2 separate regions of the Homo sapiens genome follow, and region 1 is linked to region 2. The links are contacts of gene promoters, found by promoter capture Hi-C in human tissues and cell types (Jung and others, 2019). All regions are on one chromosome and are shown on one strand. The core of a region is centred on a gene start or on the middle of the fragment in contact, and the rest is flanking DNA. Distances in the headings are between cores, read along the strand shown.

Evidence for each region. The method cuts DNA at HindIII sites, captures the fragments that hold promoters and counts their contacts. A contact is called where the count stands out against the background at its distance.
Region 1: a fragment that was not itself captured here is called in contact with the fragment with the promoter of ZNF25 in region 2 in 1 of the 25 tissues and cell types used here (lymphoblastoid cells).

The regions. Positions count from the first base shown.
Region 1 is chr10:38,372,970-38,375,970 of GRCh38, forward strand. It overlaps the pseudogene HSD17B7P2. Among named protein-coding and RNA genes, the nearest start is that of LINC00999, 54 kb to the right of the region's middle. The HindIII fragment of the contact is 6,075 bases long and covers 1-3,001 here.
Region 2 is chr10:37,974,952-37,978,300 of GRCh38, forward strand. It overlaps ZNF25 (zinc finger protein 25), which reads right to left and starts at 1,696. Exons shown (of 6, transcript NM_145011.4): 1 at 1,555-1,696. It overlaps ZNF25-DT (ZNF25 divergent transcript), which reads left to right and starts at 1,804. Exons shown (of 6, transcript XR_930830.4): 1 at 1,804-2,054. RefSeq lists enhancers at 580-669, 1,710-1,939 and a silencer at 1,260-1,669. The HindIII fragment of the contact is 22,972 bases long and covers 1-3,349 here.

The sequences.
Region 1 (3,001 bases), core at 126-2,625, 400 kb after region 2:
AAAGGATATGAACTCATCCTTTTTTATGGCTGCATAGTATTCTATGTGGTATATGTGCCACATTTTCTTAATCCAGTCTATCATTGATGGACATTTGGGTTGATTCCAAGTCTTTGCTATTGTGAATAGTGCCGCAGTAAACATACATGTGCATCTGTCTTTATAGCAGCATGATTTATAATCCTTTGGGTATATATCCAATAATGGGATGGCTGGGTCAAATGGTATTTCTAGTTCTAGATCCTTGAGGAATTGCCACACTGTCTTCCACAATGGTTGAACTAGTTTACAGTCCCACCAACAGTGTAAAAGTGTTCCTATTTCTCCACATACTCTCCAGCACCTGTTGTTTCCTGACTTTTTAATGATCGCCATTCTAACTGGTGTGAGATGGTATCTCACTGTGGTTTTGATTTGCATTTCTCTGATGGCCAGTGATGATGAGCATTTTTGCATGTGTCTTTTGCTTGCATAAATGTCTTCTTCTGAGAAGTGTCTGTTCATATCCTTTGCCCACTTGTTGATGGGGTTGTTTGTTTTTTTCTTGTAAATTTGAGTTCATTGTAGATTCTGGATATTAGCCCTTTGTCAGATGGGTAGATTGTGAAAATTTTCTCCCATTCTGTAGGTTGCCTTCCTCTGATGGTAGTTTCTTTTGCTTTGCAGAAGCTCTTTAGTTTAATTAGATCCCATTTGTCAATTTTGGCTTTTGTTGCCATTGCTTTTGGTGTTTTAGACATGAAGTCCTTGCCCATGCCTATGTCCTGAATGGTATTGCCTAGGTTTTCTTCTAGGGTTTTTATGGTTTTAGGTCTAACATTTAAGTATTTAATCCATCTCAAATTAATTTTTGTATAAGGTGTAAGGAAGGGATCGAGTTTCAGCTTTCTACATATGGCTAGCCAGTTTTCCCAGCACCATTTATTAAATAGGGAATCCTTTCCCCATTTCTTGTTTATGTCAGGTTTGTCAAAGATCAGATGGTTGTAGATATGCGGCATTATTTCTGAGGGCTGTGTTCTGTTCCATTGGTCTATATCTCTGTTTTGGTACCAGTACCATGCTGTTTTGGTTACTGTAGCCTTGTAGTATAGTTTGAAGTCAGGTAGCGTGATGCCTCCAGCTTTGTTCTTTTGGCTTAGGATTGTCTTGGCAATGCGGGCCCTTTTTTGGCTCCATATGAACTTGAAAGTAGTTTTTTCCAATTCTGTGAAGACAGTCATTGGCAGCTTGATGGGGATGGCATTGAATCTATACATTACCTTGGCCAGTATGGCCATTTTCATGATATTAATTCTTCCTATCCATGAGCATGGAATGTTCTTCCATTTGTTTGTGTCCTCTTTTATTTCATTGAGCAGTGGTTTGTAGTTCTCCTTGACGAGGTCCTTCACATCTCTTGTAAGTTGAATTCCTAGATATTTTATTCTCTTTGAAGCAATTGTGAATGGGAGTTCACTCATGATTTGGCTCTCTGTTTGTCTCCTATTGGTGTATAAGAATGCTCGTGATTTTTGCACATTGATTTTGTATCCTGAGACTTTGCTGAAGTTGCTTATCAGCTTAAGGAGATTTTGGGCTGAGACAATGGGGTTTTCTAAATATACAATCATGTAATTTGCAAACAGGGACAATTTGACCTCCCCTTTTCCTAATTGAATACCCTTTCATTCTTTCTCCTGCCTGATTGCCCTGGCCAGAACTTCCAACACTATGTTGAATAGAAGTGGAGAGAGAGGGCGTCCCTGTCTTGTGCCAGTTTTCAAAGGGAATGCTTCTAGTTTTTGCCCATTCAATATGATATTGGCTGTGAGTTTGTCATAAATAGCTCTTATTATTTTGAGATATGTCCGATCAATACCTAATTTATTGAGAATTTTTAACACGAAGTGCTGTTGAATTTTGTCAAAGGCCTTTTCTGCATCTATTGAGATAATCTTGTGGTTTTTGTCTTTGGTTCTGTTTATATGCTGGATTACGTTTATTGATTTGCGTATGTTGAATCAGCCTTGCATCCCAGGGATGAAGCTCACTTGATCATGGTGGATAAGCTTTTTGATGTGCTGCTGGATTCGGTTTGCCAGTATTTTATTGAGGATTTTTGCATCAGTGTTCGTCAGCGATATTGGTCTAAAATTCTCTTTTTTTGTTGTGTCTCTGTCAGGCTTTGGTATCAGGATGATGCTGGCCTCATAAAATGAGTTAGGAAGGATTCCCTCTTTTTCTATTGATTGGAATAGTTTCAGAAGGAATGGTACCAGCTCCTCCTTGTACCTCTGGTAGAATTCGGCTGTGAATCTGTCTGGTCCTGGGCTTTTTTTGGTTGGTAGGCTATTATTGCCTCAATTTCAGATCCTGTTATTGGTCTATTCAGGGATTTGACCCCTTCCTGGTTTAGTCTTGGGAGGGTGTAAGTGTCCAGGAATTTATCCATTTCTTCTAGATTTTCTAGTTTATTTGCGTAGAGGTGTTTATAGTATTCTCAGATGGGATCGGTGGTGATATCCCTTTTATCATTTTTTATTGCGTCTATTTGATTCTTCTCTCTCTTCTTCTTTATTAGTCTTGCTAGCAGTCTGTCAATTTTGTTGATCTTTTCAAAAAACCAGCTCCTGGATTCATTGATTTTTTGAAGGGTTTTTTTGTGTCTCTATCTCCTTCAGTTCTGCTCTGATCTTAGTTATTTCTTGCCTTCTGCTAGCTTTTGAATGTGTTTGCTTTTGCTTCTCTAGTTCTTTTAATTGTGATGTTAGAGTGTCAATTTTAGATCTTTCCTGCTTTCTCTTGTGGGCTTTTAGTGCTATAAATTTCGCTCTACACACTGCTTTAAATGTGTCCCAGAGATTCTGGTGTGTTGTGTCTTTGTTCTCATTGGTTTCAAAGAACATCTTTATATCTGCCTTCATTTCGTTATGTACCTCGTAGTCATTCAGGAGCAGGTTGTTCAGTTTCCATGTAGTTGAGTGGTTTTGAGTGAGTTTCTTAATCCTGAGTTCTAGTT
Region 2 (3,349 bases), core at 446-2,945:
TCATTGCAGCAACAAAGATGGAACTGGAGGGCATTATGTTACATGAAATAAGCCAGGCACAGAAAGACAAATATCATGTTCTCACTCATACGCAGGAGCTAAGATAGTTGATCTCATGAAGATACGATGTAGAATGATGGTTACCAGAGGCTGCGAAGGGAAGTAGGGAGTGAGGAATGAAGAGAGGTTGGTTAATGGGTACAAAAATACAGTTAGGTAGAAGGATTAAGTCCTAGTGTTCAATAGCACAGTATGGTTACAAGTGTTAGCAATAATTTATTAGCTATCAGAATAGCTAGAAGATTTCGAATATTTGCAACACAAAGAAATGATAAATGAGGCGGTGGATATTGTAATTACCCCGATTTGATCATGACACATTGTATGCATATATCAAAATATCACATGTACCCCACAAATATGTACATTATGTACCAAAAAAAAAAACTAAAATAAGCAGCAAAAACCACTTCCAGCTAGCATGGTGCTTACGAAATGCCTAAGCTCAGTTATCAGCCAATGAGAGGCATTATAAGATCACCACCATAAAATGGAGGAACTGATGAACTGCAGTTTTCATCTTTAAAAAAATTTTTTGTCCCATTTCCTGTCTTTAGAAACTAGCCTCTGGGCTGGATGGGATTCCCAGCTTCTCCTGTAAAATGCAAAATTGAGGGCTCAAATTGTGGTTTCAATTTACACGTTTCACAGTCCTCTGAGAAGAGACTAAGGTTGGAGGATGCAGGAAGGCCTTAAATAATTCACCTTTTGACTCAAGTGCTCTGAAGATTCCCCAAGCATTTTTGGAAACAGAACACTACCTGGTTGAGACTGGGTTCAAGTACACCACACAGCTACGTTCTGGTGGTGCTCAAGGGGCAAATGCTGTGCTAAATACAAGTCAAGACTGGATTTTAGTGTGGCAAGGCGCATTAACTCAGAGGAAAAAGTGAGGATTTACATCCCACCTGCTAATACTGTGGGTAAACGGATTTCTCTCTCTGAATCTTTAATAGTCACATTTATTTTAATAGAGATGGTTAAGTCGAAAGGATGGTTACGATGATTAAATGAGCCAATAATGAAAACAGCATGTTTTGTAATAATAGAAGCAGCTCACCTTTATTGAGTCCTGTATCATACTTTACATCTATTACCCTATTCAGTACCCAAAGGCCCCCATCATTTGCCAGATGCGCGTCGAGCCGCACTGGGACCACCTACAGACGCTGGACCAGAGCCCACGTCCCTGCGGCTTTGGAGCGCCGCGTCTGCAGCGGCCAGCGCGCCTCACATGGCGGCTCCGGTCACGTCACACAATGCGGCTGCTCCGGGCGCCCACTGCCCAGCACCGCAGGCCTCCTCTGGCCGCCCCTCAAGCAGGTCGCGCAAACGCCATTCCGGGCAGGGGCGCCAGCGCAGCCAGCCAACCTCCCCACCAGGCGGCTCCCACCCAGGGCCCTCCGCGGAGGCCGCTCCGGGGCCAGGAGGCGGCTTCCAGGCTCGAGACCCCGCCTCCCAGGCCCTGCCCGCCCGCAAAAGCCTTCGACACACCTGCAGGGTCTCGGCCTCTGCTCCCGGCCCGCGCCGGGCCCAGGCCCCGCCCTTTGCGGCCCAGCCCAGACCCGGAGGCACCGGAGTCCTCTCCCCACCCTAGGGCGTAAGACCAAAAAAACGCCAATGCCAGAAAGAAGACACTGCACATGCGCAGAACGTTTCCCTAGCCCTACTCCAGAACTACGCTTCCCAGAAGGCCCGGCTGCGACTCCATCTTGGATGACGTCGTGAGGCGCGGCCGCCTCCAGCGGCCTGAGTGATTGCTGTCGGGTTTCCGGGAGAGGGCGCTGTCCTTGCTCAGTGATGGCCGGAGAGCTGCACCCTGCACGTCTGGGCTTGAAGACAGAAATCCACCGTGAGGTGCTCCAAGGAACACTGATGGGCAGTTTTGTTAAAGTGATTGAACTCCGTGGGTACAGGAGTACGTGGAGTAATGAAGGATAATGCCCTGTAACCGCTTCCTCTTAGGAATGCTAGCTTTCACAATTGTGCAAACGGTACGCGAAACGTAATAAACTACAAAATATGTATAAGCTAAAACAGAAAACGAGTATACCACTTCCCAAAAGCAAAAGCGCTTAATGTTAGGTGAACATCCTTCTCATGAATTTACACAAATTTTAACCTAATGGTATAGAGTATCATGACTATCATTTCACTAAGGAATATATATAGTCATCCCTCCTTATCCTGGGGGTGCATATCTATGGATTCAACTAAGCTCAGAATGAAAATACTTAAAAATTCTATCTTACTGAACATGTACAAAGTTTCCCCCTTGTCATTATACCCTAAACAATACAATAAAACTATTTACATAGTATTTACATTGTGTTAGGTGTACAATTAATCTAGACATAATTTAAAATATACAGGAGGAGGTGTGTAGGTTATGCAAATATCAGGTTATTTTCTACCAGAGACTTGAACATCCCTGGATTTGAGTAATCCAGGGAGGTCCTGGTACTAATCCCCCGCGGATACAGAGAGAGGACTTGGCTGTATATGTAAAACAAATTATATATTTCCTGGTCAATAACTTTATTACATTAAAACATGTAGAATCATCTAGAAAAAAACGTATATATTGTCATGTGTATAAACACACATATATATACATATAAAAATATGCGCACATAATACACACACACACACCACCTTTCTGGATGGGAAGTATTGAGGAAATAATTTAAAATAAAGCCTCTTGCCAACCCAGAAAATTCTCTCCACAGATGGAGAAAAGAACAAAACAGTTACATTATTGAATAAACATTAAACCAGACTGCGATGTGCGTCACAGGCAACCCACTAATGAGTTTATGAAGACAGGAAGAACTATCATTTTTTGTATTAGCCGGTCTGGTACAACGCATTCTATTTCCTCAAGGTAAAAATAACTTGTCCTCAAGTAAGATGACTGTACAGCAACATTTGCTATGCATAATTCATCTGAAATTCACCTGATAATTAGGGTAGCCATCAGTGTTAGTTAATTGCCATTATGCAAATGAAAAGTAAAGTTTCTGGTATCTCTATGACACGCAGGTAGTTAACCGCGGGTAGCCAGGAGCCTAGGAGTTTACCACAGAGGCAGGGAGATGGGGTGCAATCTTCCTTGATGCTTACATTTCAAAGACATGACCCAAGGCCATTAAGAAAGACCTTCCTGGGTTGTTAAACTAGCAAGAAGCTTATTTACTTTTTAAAAAGTTTTGCTATATCTCACAGGGACAGAGAAGGGATTTACAATTACAAGTTTTCTTAAGGAAATGCTGTAAGAAAAGAGAGGAGT